Linked DNA regions of Homo sapiens: region 1 is linked to region 2. The links are contacts of gene promoters, found by promoter capture Hi-C in human tissues and cell types (Jung and others, 2019). All regions are on one chromosome and are shown on one strand. The core of a region is centred on a gene start or on the middle of the fragment in contact, and the rest is flanking DNA. Distances in the headings are between cores, read along the strand shown. Region 1 has its middle 3.5 kb from the start of SOWAHD. Region 2 holds the start of RPL39 (ribosomal protein L39).

What was found. The method cuts DNA at HindIII sites, captures the fragments that hold promoters and counts their contacts. A contact is called where the count stands out against the background at its distance.
Region 1: a fragment that was not itself captured here is called in contact with the fragment with the promoter of RPL39 in region 2 in 1 of the 25 tissues and cell types used here (pancreas).

The regions. Positions count from the first base shown.
Region 1 is chrX:119,752,308-119,757,821 of GRCh38, reverse strand. No RefSeq gene overlaps it. Among named protein-coding and RNA genes, the nearest start is that of SOWAHD, 3.5 kb to the left of the region's middle. RefSeq lists enhancers at 1,441-1,640, 1,651-1,710. The HindIII fragment of the contact is 5,893 bases long and covers 292-5,514 here.
Region 2 is chrX:119,788,852-119,794,822 of GRCh38, reverse strand. RPL39 (ribosomal protein L39) reads left to right here and starts at 3,193. Exons shown (of 3, transcript NM_001000.4): 1 at 3,193-3,249; 2 at 4,812-4,915. The coding sequence starts at 3,247. It overlaps LOC107985694 (a long non-coding RNA gene), which reads right to left and starts at 3,107. Exons shown (of 3, transcript XR_001755949.2): 1 at 2,806-3,107; 2 at 1,087-1,247. RefSeq lists enhancers at 3,199-3,458, 5,328-5,387. The HindIII fragment of the contact is 28,989 bases long and covers 1-5,971 here.

The DNA.
Region 1 (5,514 bases), core at 1,989-4,488, 37 kb after region 2:
CCAGGTTGGCTTGGAGAAGCAGCTACAGGTGAATCTGAGCCGGCGCCGCAGGAGCGCCCTGTTCTCTTTAGAGATGCATCCCTGCTCTCTCCCCAGGGCCCCGCTTTCTACAAATTCAAAGCTTAGGGGCTTTTTAAAAAAGGATATTTTTTCTTTTTCACTCCTAATACCAGCGTACTCTTTGCTCTTCCCTTCCCTTAGTAAATAGTGGTTCTTGCCTCCACACCCCCAGCATCTTAAGGAGCTCAGTCAGTGAGCAACGGGGAGCCATAGAAGATTGTTGAGCCGGGGAGAGACACAGCCATGATGGAGGTTGTGTTAAAAAGGTGATTTGGGAGGTGCAGAGGCAGGAAGTCGGAAGACTGTTCCAGCAGTCTAGGCCAAGGGGGATGGAGGCTCAGGCCAAATCAGCCCACTCCCTCGGGGCCACCTGTGGCAGCAGTGATAGAAGGTATCGGAAGCTTTTCTTCCTTGGCCCTCACGTATTTGGAACAAGTCCTAAATATCTAGAGCTTTCCTTCAGAACAGTTTATGCATTTGTAATTTGGTTTTGAACATTTACTATGTGCCAGGCACTGTGCTTGTTGCGTTATATATGTTAACTCTTTTAATCCTCCCAGTGACCTCAAGTGCTGGGAATCATTACTGTCCCCAGTTTGCAGAGAGGTTAGGCTACTTGCTCAAGGTCACCCAGCAGGAAGTGGCAGAGCAGGTCTGTGCGACACCATAGCCTTTGTTCTGGTACACAGGAACTGGCATTCAAGCCTGGCTTATCAACTGCAAATCACATACAAGCCCCAAATTCCAGCCAAAAGGATAGACTTGTAACGTGAGCGTATCTATAACTTACACTCCTCTGCCTGGAAGAGCTTCTATGTAGTGAAGTTCTTTTCTTTCAAGGTTGCGCTTAGTTTCCACCTCTAGCAAGCCTCCTCTGATTATCCCAGCCCAAAGTGATCCCTCTCTTTCCCCAGCCCTGTGTTTCTGCTACTTCTTTGGCCCCAAGACTGCCTTGTGTTACATCTCTCTCCCCTTGCTCTCATATGCCAATTAAACTATAAACTCTTGGACAGCTATGTCATACTATCCTTGTGCACCTAGTAGTTATCCAAGAAATATTTGTTACCTTGTTCTGGTTTGGCAGGCTGGGAAAATGTGATTGTGTGTGTGTATGTTGGGGGCGGGGGACATGTATCCACAATCAGCACCTCAATGCCTGCTCCCACATCCCTGCTCCAGACTCCAATCTGCAGGACATCAAAAGCAACTCATAGATTTGGTCAATTCATTTTTCTTTAAAAGAGATTCAGTGGTTTATTCACTGAGTTGACTGGCCAAAGCCACCTCCTGGCCTTCGCTGACTTCTCAGAGACCAGGCCTAGGCCCAGAATGGGCCCCAAGCTTTCAGGCTTTCATTTTCAAAATGAATCCTGACTGACAAGCAGCTACTTCCGTTGCTCTGGAGACTCCTCTCCGCAACCCCAGATCTGTAAACACCAAACCGCACACAGGCACACACACTTCCAGAATATGCAAACAGCTGCAGCAATATTTTTTTTTAAGTCAAAATGCCAGCATGGAAAATGCAGGATGGAAGAATGCTTGGACTATTAATTTTCGTCACCACTAAGCAGGCAACTCTCTTCCCTATCAGCATGAATAATATCTGTTTCCAGTTCAAAGATTGCAAAGGCAGCCGCCTGACCAGTGCCACAGACCCATGATACATGTGCCCTTGCTTAACTCTGCTGCTAGAGACCAAAGCCACGGTGCCTCCCTAGCAACTTGTTTCATCTTTAATTAGCAAGTGCTTTCTACCCTAGGTCACCAGCTGCACACACCACTCCCCAGAACCGCAACACCCATCTCTATTTTAGTAGAGAGGGTCTCAGGAATTTGATAGCAGGGAGTAGGGCAGAGGGAGTGGAAAACAGAAGGGATAGTACCCACCCACCTAAAATTAACATGCCAGTTATCTGAAACATCTGCTACCCCTCCAAGGGAGTGGGGCAAAAACCCCTCAAGCCCTGGGAAATGACTTCCCAAAAAGCTGGAGGTAGAGTAGATATTTGCATTGCAAATTGTAATAATACTGATGTCTTTTCCAAATAGCAGCCTCTCTAATATATTTGTGGGTTTATTTACTAGATCTTGGACTATTAGAACTAGAAGAGATCGGCTGGGCGCGGTGGCTCATGCCTGTAATCCCAATACTTTGGGAGGCCGAGGCAGGCTGATCACGAGGTCAGGAGATCGAGACCATCCTGGCTAACACGGTGAAACCCCGTCTCTACTAAAAAATACGAAAACTTAGCCGGCCGTGGTGGTGGGTAGTCCCAGCTACTCGGGAGGCTGAGGCAGGAGAATGGCGTGAACCCGGGAGGTGGAGCTTGCAGTGAGCTGAGATCACGCCACTGCACTGTAGTGTGGGTGACAGAGCGAGACTCCGTCTCAAAAAAAAAAAAAAAAAAAGAACTAGAAGAGATCTTAATGTTTCATTGGCCTTTATTTTCCAGATGAGGTTTAACTAACTCAGGGAGCATGGCAGAAGGCAGAGGAACAGAGAAGCTGATGTGTTAGGCGTACACTGAAAATCTATCTTGATGAAGAGAGCAGCTCAGAAATCTTAGGGGATGTCAGTAGGAAATCATAGTTGATCTGCAAAAATTTAATTTACATGAAACTTCTCAGAAACATGCTCCTTGGGCGAAGCCAAATGCTGGTGTATCCTTGGGCTCTCAATGGAGTTTGCCCCGGGGGCTTATGGATTCAGAAAAATCCATGAGTGCAAAACAGTTGAGAAGCAGATGTGTGGAATATGGGAAGTAAAGTCCCTCAGGCGTCCATAACCCTCGGTCATGGAGGGAATGGGGAACATTCTTTTTTTTTTCTTTCTTTCTTTTTTTTTGAGACGGAGTCCCATCTGTTGCCTAGGCTGGAGTGCAGTGTGGTGTGATCTCGGCTCACTGCAACCTCCGCCTCTCTGGTTCAAGTGATTCTCATGCCTCAGCCTCCTGAGTAGCTGGGATTACAGACGTGCACCACCATTCTCAGCTAAATTTTGTATTTTTAGTAGAGACGGGGTTTTACCATGTTGGCCAGGCTGGTCTCGAACTCCTGGCCCCAAGTGATCCACCCACCTTGGCCTCCCACCACACCCGGTGGTGTGAGCCACCACACACGGCTGGAACATTCTTGGGGTTCCAGATATAGAATGTAAATTTCCTTTCCTCCAAAGACCTGTGCTGATATCATCATGATTCTCAATGAGAAACCTATGAAAGAGAGAGAGCTCCTTTCTCTCTGTTTGCATGTGAATGTGTGTGCAAGAATGGATGTTTGAGTGGTATGTATGTGTACCAGACATCACTGTCTGGTTGTGTGTATAATGTGTATGTGTCTGTGTGTATGTACTCTGCCAAACATCACTTTCCCCTTCCCAAATGTCAGACCTTTACATGAGATCTCATTTTGGATCCCTTTTCCTTAGACTATGGAACAAGTCATATTTGGTAAACACTTTAAAAATTATTTCCTAGTACTTTGGAATTACCCCCACCTTCCCACCCCCCTCCCCCGCCAATCCTGCAGTAAGACCTGATGTATCCAGTTAAAAAAAGAACTTACAATCTTATTTTGAGAGCTTACTGAGCTTGGAAGAGTAGAAAGTGGTAGAACCAAGTTGACACCAGGGCTTCTAAAAATGACTAAGGAGAAAGGGGTGGGCAGGGAGCAGGAAGAAATCTGTAGGCCTGAGTGGAAGCAGGAAACCTGCCTAAACTCAAGCTGGAATGGCTTAATTGGAGCCTGAGAGTCAAGCATGGGCTTTGAAGTGTGACGAGAAAAAAATTTCCATTACACATTTTATTGATACTGAGATTAAAAGAATGCCACATCCTGTAAAAGACTTAAGGTATTACCATATGGAGACACATGAGGGCGCTCTGACCAACTAGCAACTGAGAAAAGTAGAAAGGCTGTGTCTGTTTCAACCTGTAGGCAACGAAAGAGGCATGGCAGGCCCTTTGTTTAATTTTTTTTTTTTTTAGGACAGGGTCTCGCTATGTTGCCCAGGCTGGTCTTGAACTCCTAGGGTCAAGCGATCCTCCCACCTCAGCCTCCCAAAGTGCTGGGATTACAGGCATGAGCTACCGCGCCCAGCAACAGGCCCTTTTGTTTTGTTTTGTTTTGTTTTGTTTTGAGACAGTCTCACTCTGTCACCCAGGCTGGAATGCAGTGGCACGATCTCGGCTCACTGCAACCTCTGCCTCCCAGGTTCAAGCGATTCTCTTGCCTCAGACTCCCGAGTAGCTGGGATTACAGGTGTGTACCACCACACCCAGCTAATTTTTGTATTTTTAGTAGAGATGTCATTCCCCTGTGTTGGCCAGGCTGGTCTTGAACTCCTGGCCTCAAGTGATCCACCCACCTCTGCCTCCCAAAGTGCTGGGGTTACAGGCGTGAGCTACTGCGCCCAGCAATAAGCCCTTTGTTTATATGAATTCAGGCTTCTACCCTGGAGCAGGTCATTGGCCCTTAAGTAGTTGCTGGGAAGAAGGTACTAGCCCTAGGGGTGAGGGGGCTGGCCTCATCTTGAAAGGAATGTGAACCATCAGGAGAGAGGGGGAGGCCAGTGAGCAGTACAAAGTGGTTCCTTCCTTACTTTATCAGTTGGCTTCTGTCATACGTAAGGCTTGGAATAATAAACTCTTAGTTTTCAGAGTGCTTTCATATTTTTAATTATCTCTTGACCCAGACAGCAAGCTTGTGAGATATGTAGAGAAGACAGTATTTATATGCAATTCACACACAAGGCTGAGGGAGGTTAAGTGGCCTGCCCAGGGTCACGCGTCTCGAAAGTGGTAGAGCAGGGTCCGTGCTCATGCCTCTGTTTGATGCTGCCATACTGTACATTTGGGTACGGCTGACAGGAACAGCTCTTAATAAAATTGTGCAGTGGGTAAATGTTGTCCTTGGCGCCTTCAGCCATCTATTTCTGACATCCAGGCATCCTGTACCCCAGATCACCTAACGTAGCACTCTGTAATAACAGTGATTACAGCTGCCTACTGTTCATTAAGCACTTAGGTGGCTGGTGACTTAGGTCCTGTGCCAAGCATTAAATATGCATTTTCATACATGAATGGTCACAGCAGAACTATTTACAATAGCCAAAAGGTAGAAACAATCCCGATATCCATAGTATATCCATACCATGGAATGTTATTTGGCCATACAAAGGAATGAAATAGGCCAGGCACAGTGGCTCACGCCTGTAATCCCAGCACTTTGGGAGGCTGAGTCGGGCAGATCACCTAAGATCAGGAGTTCGAGACCAGCCTGGCCAACATGGTAAAACCCTGTCTTTACTGAAAAAAGAAAATACAAAAATTGCCAGATGCAGTGGCTCACACCGGTAATCCCAGCACTTTGGGATGCCGAGGTGGGTGGATCACCTGAGGTCAGGAGTTTGAGACCAGCCTGACCAATATGGTAAAACACCATCTCTACTAA
Region 2 (5,971 bases), core at 1,944-4,443:
CACTATAATTAAACTCAATGAAGGCAGAGTTTTTTTAGACTTGTATTTTGAAATAACAATAGATTCGCAAGAAGTTGCAAAGAAAGGGACTGAGAGGCCCTGTGTACCCTTTATCTAGTTTTCCCCAGTGTTAGCATCTTGCATAACTATAGTACAATATCACAACCAGGAAATTCACGTTGGCACAGTCCACAGAGCTTATTCAGATTTCACCAGTTATACATATGCCCCTTGGGGCAGGGGTGGGCAGGGGGGAGTTGTATAGAATTGTTTTTTTTGTTTTTTTGTTTTTGTTTTTTGAGACAGAGTCTCACTCTGTCACCCAGGCTGGGGTGCAGTGTTGTGATCTCGGCTCACTGCACCCTCCACCTCCTGGGTTCAAGCAATTCTCTCTGTCTCAGCCTCCTGAGTAGCTTGGACTACAGGCACGCACCAGCATGCCCGGCTAATTTTTTTTGTTTGTTTTGAGACAGAGTCTCGCTCTGTCACCCAGGCTGGAGTGCAGTGGCGCGATCTCGGCTCACTGCAGCCTCCACCTCCCGGGTTCAAGCCATTCTCCTGCCTCAGCCTCCTGAGTAGCTGGGATTACAGGCGCGCGCCACCACACTTGGCTAATTTTTGTATTTTTAGTAGGGACGGGGTTTCACCATGTTGGTCAGGTTGATCTCGAACTCCTGACCTCAGGTGATCCGCCCGCCTCAGCCTCCCAAAGTGCTGGGATTACAGACGTGAGTCACCACACTTGGCAAATTCTATCACACGTGTAGCTTTGTGTAATTCCCACCACAAAAAAATCCAGAACCATACCATCGCCACAAGACTCCAAGAGGGCAGGGATTTTTGGTCAGATTTGTTTGCTTCTGTACCCCCAACACGAAGACCCGAACCAGACAGAGTAGGTTCCCAAAATCTGTGTTGAAAAGGCAGTAGAGGGTAGTGGTGACAGCACAGACTCTGAAGCCTGGACTACCTGAGTCTGAGTACCGGCTGTGCAACATAGTAGCTGTGTGACCTTGGGTATACAACTTAATCTGTCCCTGTTGCAGTTCCCTCTTCTGTAAAATGAGGATGATTAACCATACTTACCTTGTAGTGTTCTGGTGAAGATTCAAAAGGTCACTGGTAAAACATGGTAAGCTCACAGTGAGGCTTGAATTAATACATGCAGCTACATAGTAACTATCAAGCCCCATAAGCAGCAGCCACTGTTACTTTCATCCTTTTGCATTGCAACAGAACAGATAGTGCTAGGAGCCATAAGAAAGGTACAAATAAACTATTACAACAGTGTTGAAGGGGTGATGATTTCCAGCTAAGGGGAAGAGACAGCATTTGAATTCGGCCTTAGAAGGTGACTGGTGGTGTCATGAGCTAAATTATGTTCCCCCAAAATTCATGTGTTGAAGCCCTAATCCCCAGGACCTCAGAATGTGACTTTAGGCCGGGCACGGTAGCGCACTCCAGTAATCCCAGCACTTTGGGAGGCCGAGGCGGGCGGATTACTTGAGGTCAGGAGTTCGAGACCGGCTTAGCCAACATGGCGAAACTCCGTCTCTACTAAAAATACAAAAATTAGCTGGGTGTGGTAGTGCGTGCCTGTAGTCCCAGCTACTCGGGAGGCTGAGGCATGAGAATCACTTGAACCCGGGAGGCGGAGGTTGCAGTGAGCCAAGATTGTGCCATTGCACTCTAGCCTGGGCAATAAAGGGAGACTCAGTCTTGAAAAAAAAAAAAAGGAAATATGTGCTATAGTAATACATGGGCTTCTTAACATAGTTCTATTTGTGAACTTATAACTAATGTAATTTAAAGGGAGTGTGTAAATAATATATGGAGACATCTGCATCAACTGTAATGTAACATGAAGCCATCTATGGTTTCTATTAGTGACCAAGTCACGAGTACTGCTAATGCCACTGTGGTCTGTTGCCTACATTCCTAAATAAAGAAAGCATTACATTTCATTAAATTTGGTGAAAATAAAGTTGTATTTTCCCATTCAAGTTCATGGGATCCTCTGAATTCTATACATGGACTCTTGTGGACTCCAGGTTAAAAACCCTTGCTGTAATCCGTTGGTGTAAAAATGCTTGAGGTGACTGCAAATATACATGGAGGTTTTTGCGTTTATTTATTTACTTTTTCTTTTTTGAGATGGAGTTTTGCTCTTGTTGCCCAGGCTGGAGTGCAGTGGCGCAATCTCGGCTCGCTGCAACCTCCGCCTTCAGGGTTCAAGAGATTCTCTTGTCTCAGCCCCCGCAGTAGCTGAGATTACAGGCGCCCGCCACCACGCCTGGTTAGTTTTTTTGTATTTTTAGTAGGGACGGGGTTTCACCATGTTGGCCAGGCTGGTCTCGAACTCCTCGTTTCAAGTAATCCGCCCGCCTAGGCCTCCCAAAGTGCTGGGATTACAAGCGTGAGCCACCACGCCCAGCTTATTTTTATGTTTATTTTATTTACTCATCAAAAAGGAAAGGTTTTTGCTTTTAAATGGGGAAAAGGATGAAAATGGGGAACACTAGCATCCCAAACGCATGTTATTAATTATTGTACATCTTGCCAAAGGCGGGCTACAATGTCAGGCTGGACTTCTAGCAGCCAAGGAAGAGGTTCTGTCCCTAACTTTCTGAGTTGAAAACTTTGATTGGCAACCTTCCGCCTAGTCGAAAACCCCTAGGCTTACATAAGCGTCCACGTGGTCCAACCCCCTCCAACTTCTCCGGCTTCCTCCGACACGACTGTCCCTTCCCACACCTCCCAGCCAGGCCGAAATGACTCGTAACCCTCTGGGAAAATGGCACTTACTCTCCGCCTGCCGAGCTCCGACCCGGCGTTCCGAGTCCCCGGCGCCCGGAGGTGACGGTCGCTTCCCCTGCCCTCCCTTAGGGTTAGTCCCGCCCAATCGGCTCCTTAATTTTTCGGAGGGGCTTCTACTTTGGCATTTATCACGGGCTGTCTGCCTCACTTACGAAGCAGGGTGCCCCTAGCACACTGCCGGGCCCCTGGGGGAACGCACTTAGGGAAGCGAAGCAAAGCTAACTGCATTTGGCAGAAACCAGCGCGCTTTCCCACGGCGCCACGGGAGCGCACCGCTAGACAGAGAAGGCACTAGAAGAGGCGGTCGGTGCATAGCGTCACCTCCTAAACTCCGCCCATCGGAAGCGCCTTCTAAGCTCGTTCTTCCGCCAGCTTCCCTCCTCTTCCTTTCTCCGCCATCGTGGTGTGTTCTTGACTCCGCTGCTCGCCATGGTAAGTCCATCGGCCCCCATCGGCCCCGGGGTGGCTTCCCAAAACCCGAGGCCGCTGCCAGGAAATGCCTGGGCCGCGCGGAGCGTTGAGGGGCGGGAGCCTTTTAAAGGCTTTTTCAAGAAAATATCCAGTTCGGCCACTGTTGTCTTTCGTGGCCTGGAGGGAAGCTAGTGAGCCAGCGAGCAACCTGGAGAGGGACGGGCTGCGCTGCGGCCGCGGATTCAAGGGGGCTCTTTCTTTGCCCGGCCGCTGCCGAGTCGGGCAGGGATTCCGGTTTCCCTTCGCTTGTAGCGAACTCGTTCTGGAGGCGGGGGGTGGGAGGTGGCAGCCACCCCCGAAATCGTGGCCTGACTGTGGGCTGCCCGTGGCATGCGCAACGTGGAGGGTAATCAGGAGGGTATTGTGGGCTACTGGTTTTCGAAAAGGGTTTAGCTTGGCGTGGAGAAGCGAACCGCATTTTTAGATCCCAGGACTTTTGTTTAGAGGACGTTTATTCAGAGACTTGAGCGTCACCCCGTGGAAGCGCCTAGAACAAGGGGTGTTTTGCGAACCTGTGTGTCATTCTGGCCTTCTTAGTAAATGGCAGCAGCGAACCAGTCACTCTTTACTGGGAAATGTAAAATGTTGATTTCTAGATATGGAGGCGATAAGTACTGGTATTTTATTACTTGTCAAGTAATTTATTACTTGACAAAATTTACAACTGCTACTGTGGATGGGGGACGGGGTGTAATCTTTGCCTTCTTTGTATTGGCTCCCATTATTATGCAAGGGTATGTTCGTCCAGGTTGGCCAGGCATTAAACCTGCATCCGTGCCAATTTTGCAAGATTATTCTGTAGATTTGGGGGAGTATTGGGGTTGGCCTTAGATGAAAGCCAAAAGATGCAACTAGAAATTGAGACAGTCATCCTTGGAAAAGTGACATTTCATTTATTTTTAAATTTAAAAGTTTATTTTTTTAGCCAGTGAAATTTAGCAGTAGAGATAGAGTTAGGATTAATACCGAAATGGTGAGTAGGTTAGATCTTCTGAATGTCAGGGACTTTCCCTAAGTCTTAATTACCCTCCCAATAACACTTGAAAAGTACGTACCCCTGTTTTACAAAGTAGAGCACTGAGATTCGTTGACTTGCAAATGGTAGGTAGGTGGTTCTGTTTGACTCAAAGCTGTGTTCTTCCCAGGAAGCCAGATTCCCTAGCCATTCCCAGTGTGGTCGTCTGAGTCCTTGGGGGACCACAGGGTAAATTGAAAGGTAGCCTCTGGCTGTGGAGCAGAAAGGACCTGGGTTTGAATCCTGGTTCTGCACATTGATGCTCTGATTTTGTGCATGTTTCTTAACCGGATTCCACTTATTTTATCTGAACGATGGAAACTGTGGTATCTGCCCCCAGAGAAGTTGTGAGGGTCAGAGACTTGCTTGGCTTGATGGCTTAGCATTGAGAAGATTTTGGGGCTGGGGTATGTGTTAAGCACTCAAATGTTGGTTTGAAGGAGTTCTTGACTTTGAATCATTCGGGCAGGCTCTAATATTGTCTAAATTGATTGCATTTTCTTCCCAGTCTTCTCACAAGACTTTCAGGATTAAGCGATTCCTGGCCAAGAAACAAAAGCAAAATCGTCCCATTCCCCAGTGGATTCGGATGAAAACTGGAAATAAAATCAGGTAAGACCTCCATCATACTGCTTGTATTTTGCTAAATGTAAGAGCCACTGTGTCTGGCCAGGGTTACTTTTTGAGTATAAATACATGATTAAAATTGCATGCAATCCAATCCACCCTTTGACAGCATTCTCAAATTCGTTTTTAAAAACGTACTTCCTTTGTTTCTGCACTGCATCCAGCCCACATCTGGGCTTATGGGCAGATAATTCTCCAATACTTATTAATTTCCTGGTCATCTTCAGTCTGAGCTAGGTCATAAGGTGGAAGGCTGTCTTATACACATCCTGGTGGGGAAGACCCAGTCAGTATTTTTAGGCTTTTTGTTTTTGTTTTTGTTTTTGTTTTTGTTTTGAGACGGAGTCTCGCTCTGTTACCCGGGCTGGAGTGCAGTGGCACAATCTCGGCTCACTGCAACCTCTGCCTCCCAGGTTCAAGTGATTCTTTTGCCTCCGCCTTCAGAGTAGCTGGGACTACAGGCGTGCGTCACCACGCCCAGCTAAGTTTTATATTTTTAGTAGAGATGGTATTTCACTATATTGGCCAGGCTGGTCTCAAACTCCTGAGCTCAAGTGATCTGCCCCTCTCGGCTTCCCAAAGTGCTGGGATTACAGGCATAAGCCATTGTGCCCGGCCTTTGTTTTTGTTTTTTGAGACAGGATCTTGTTCTGTTTTACATGCTGCGTTGACACTATCTCCCTGCAACCTCTCCCTACCTACCAGACTCAAGTGACCCTCCCACCTCATCTCTCTGAGTAGCTGGGACTACAGGCACACGCCACCACACCTGGCTAATTTTTAAATTTTTTGTAGAGATGGGGTCTCTCTGTGTTGCCCAAGCTGGTCTTGAACTCCTGAGCTCAAGCAATCCTCCTGTCTCACCCTACCAAAGTGCAGAGATTACAGGCGTGAGCCATCACACCTAGCCCAGTCTTTTAGATGTTTCTCTTTTCTAAAAAGAGACTAGAAAAGATTGGAAAACTGTCCTCTACTGCAGAAGTAGTTGATCTCAAAGGAAAAACATTACTAGAATTGCTATGAAGGACCTCCAAGGTCATC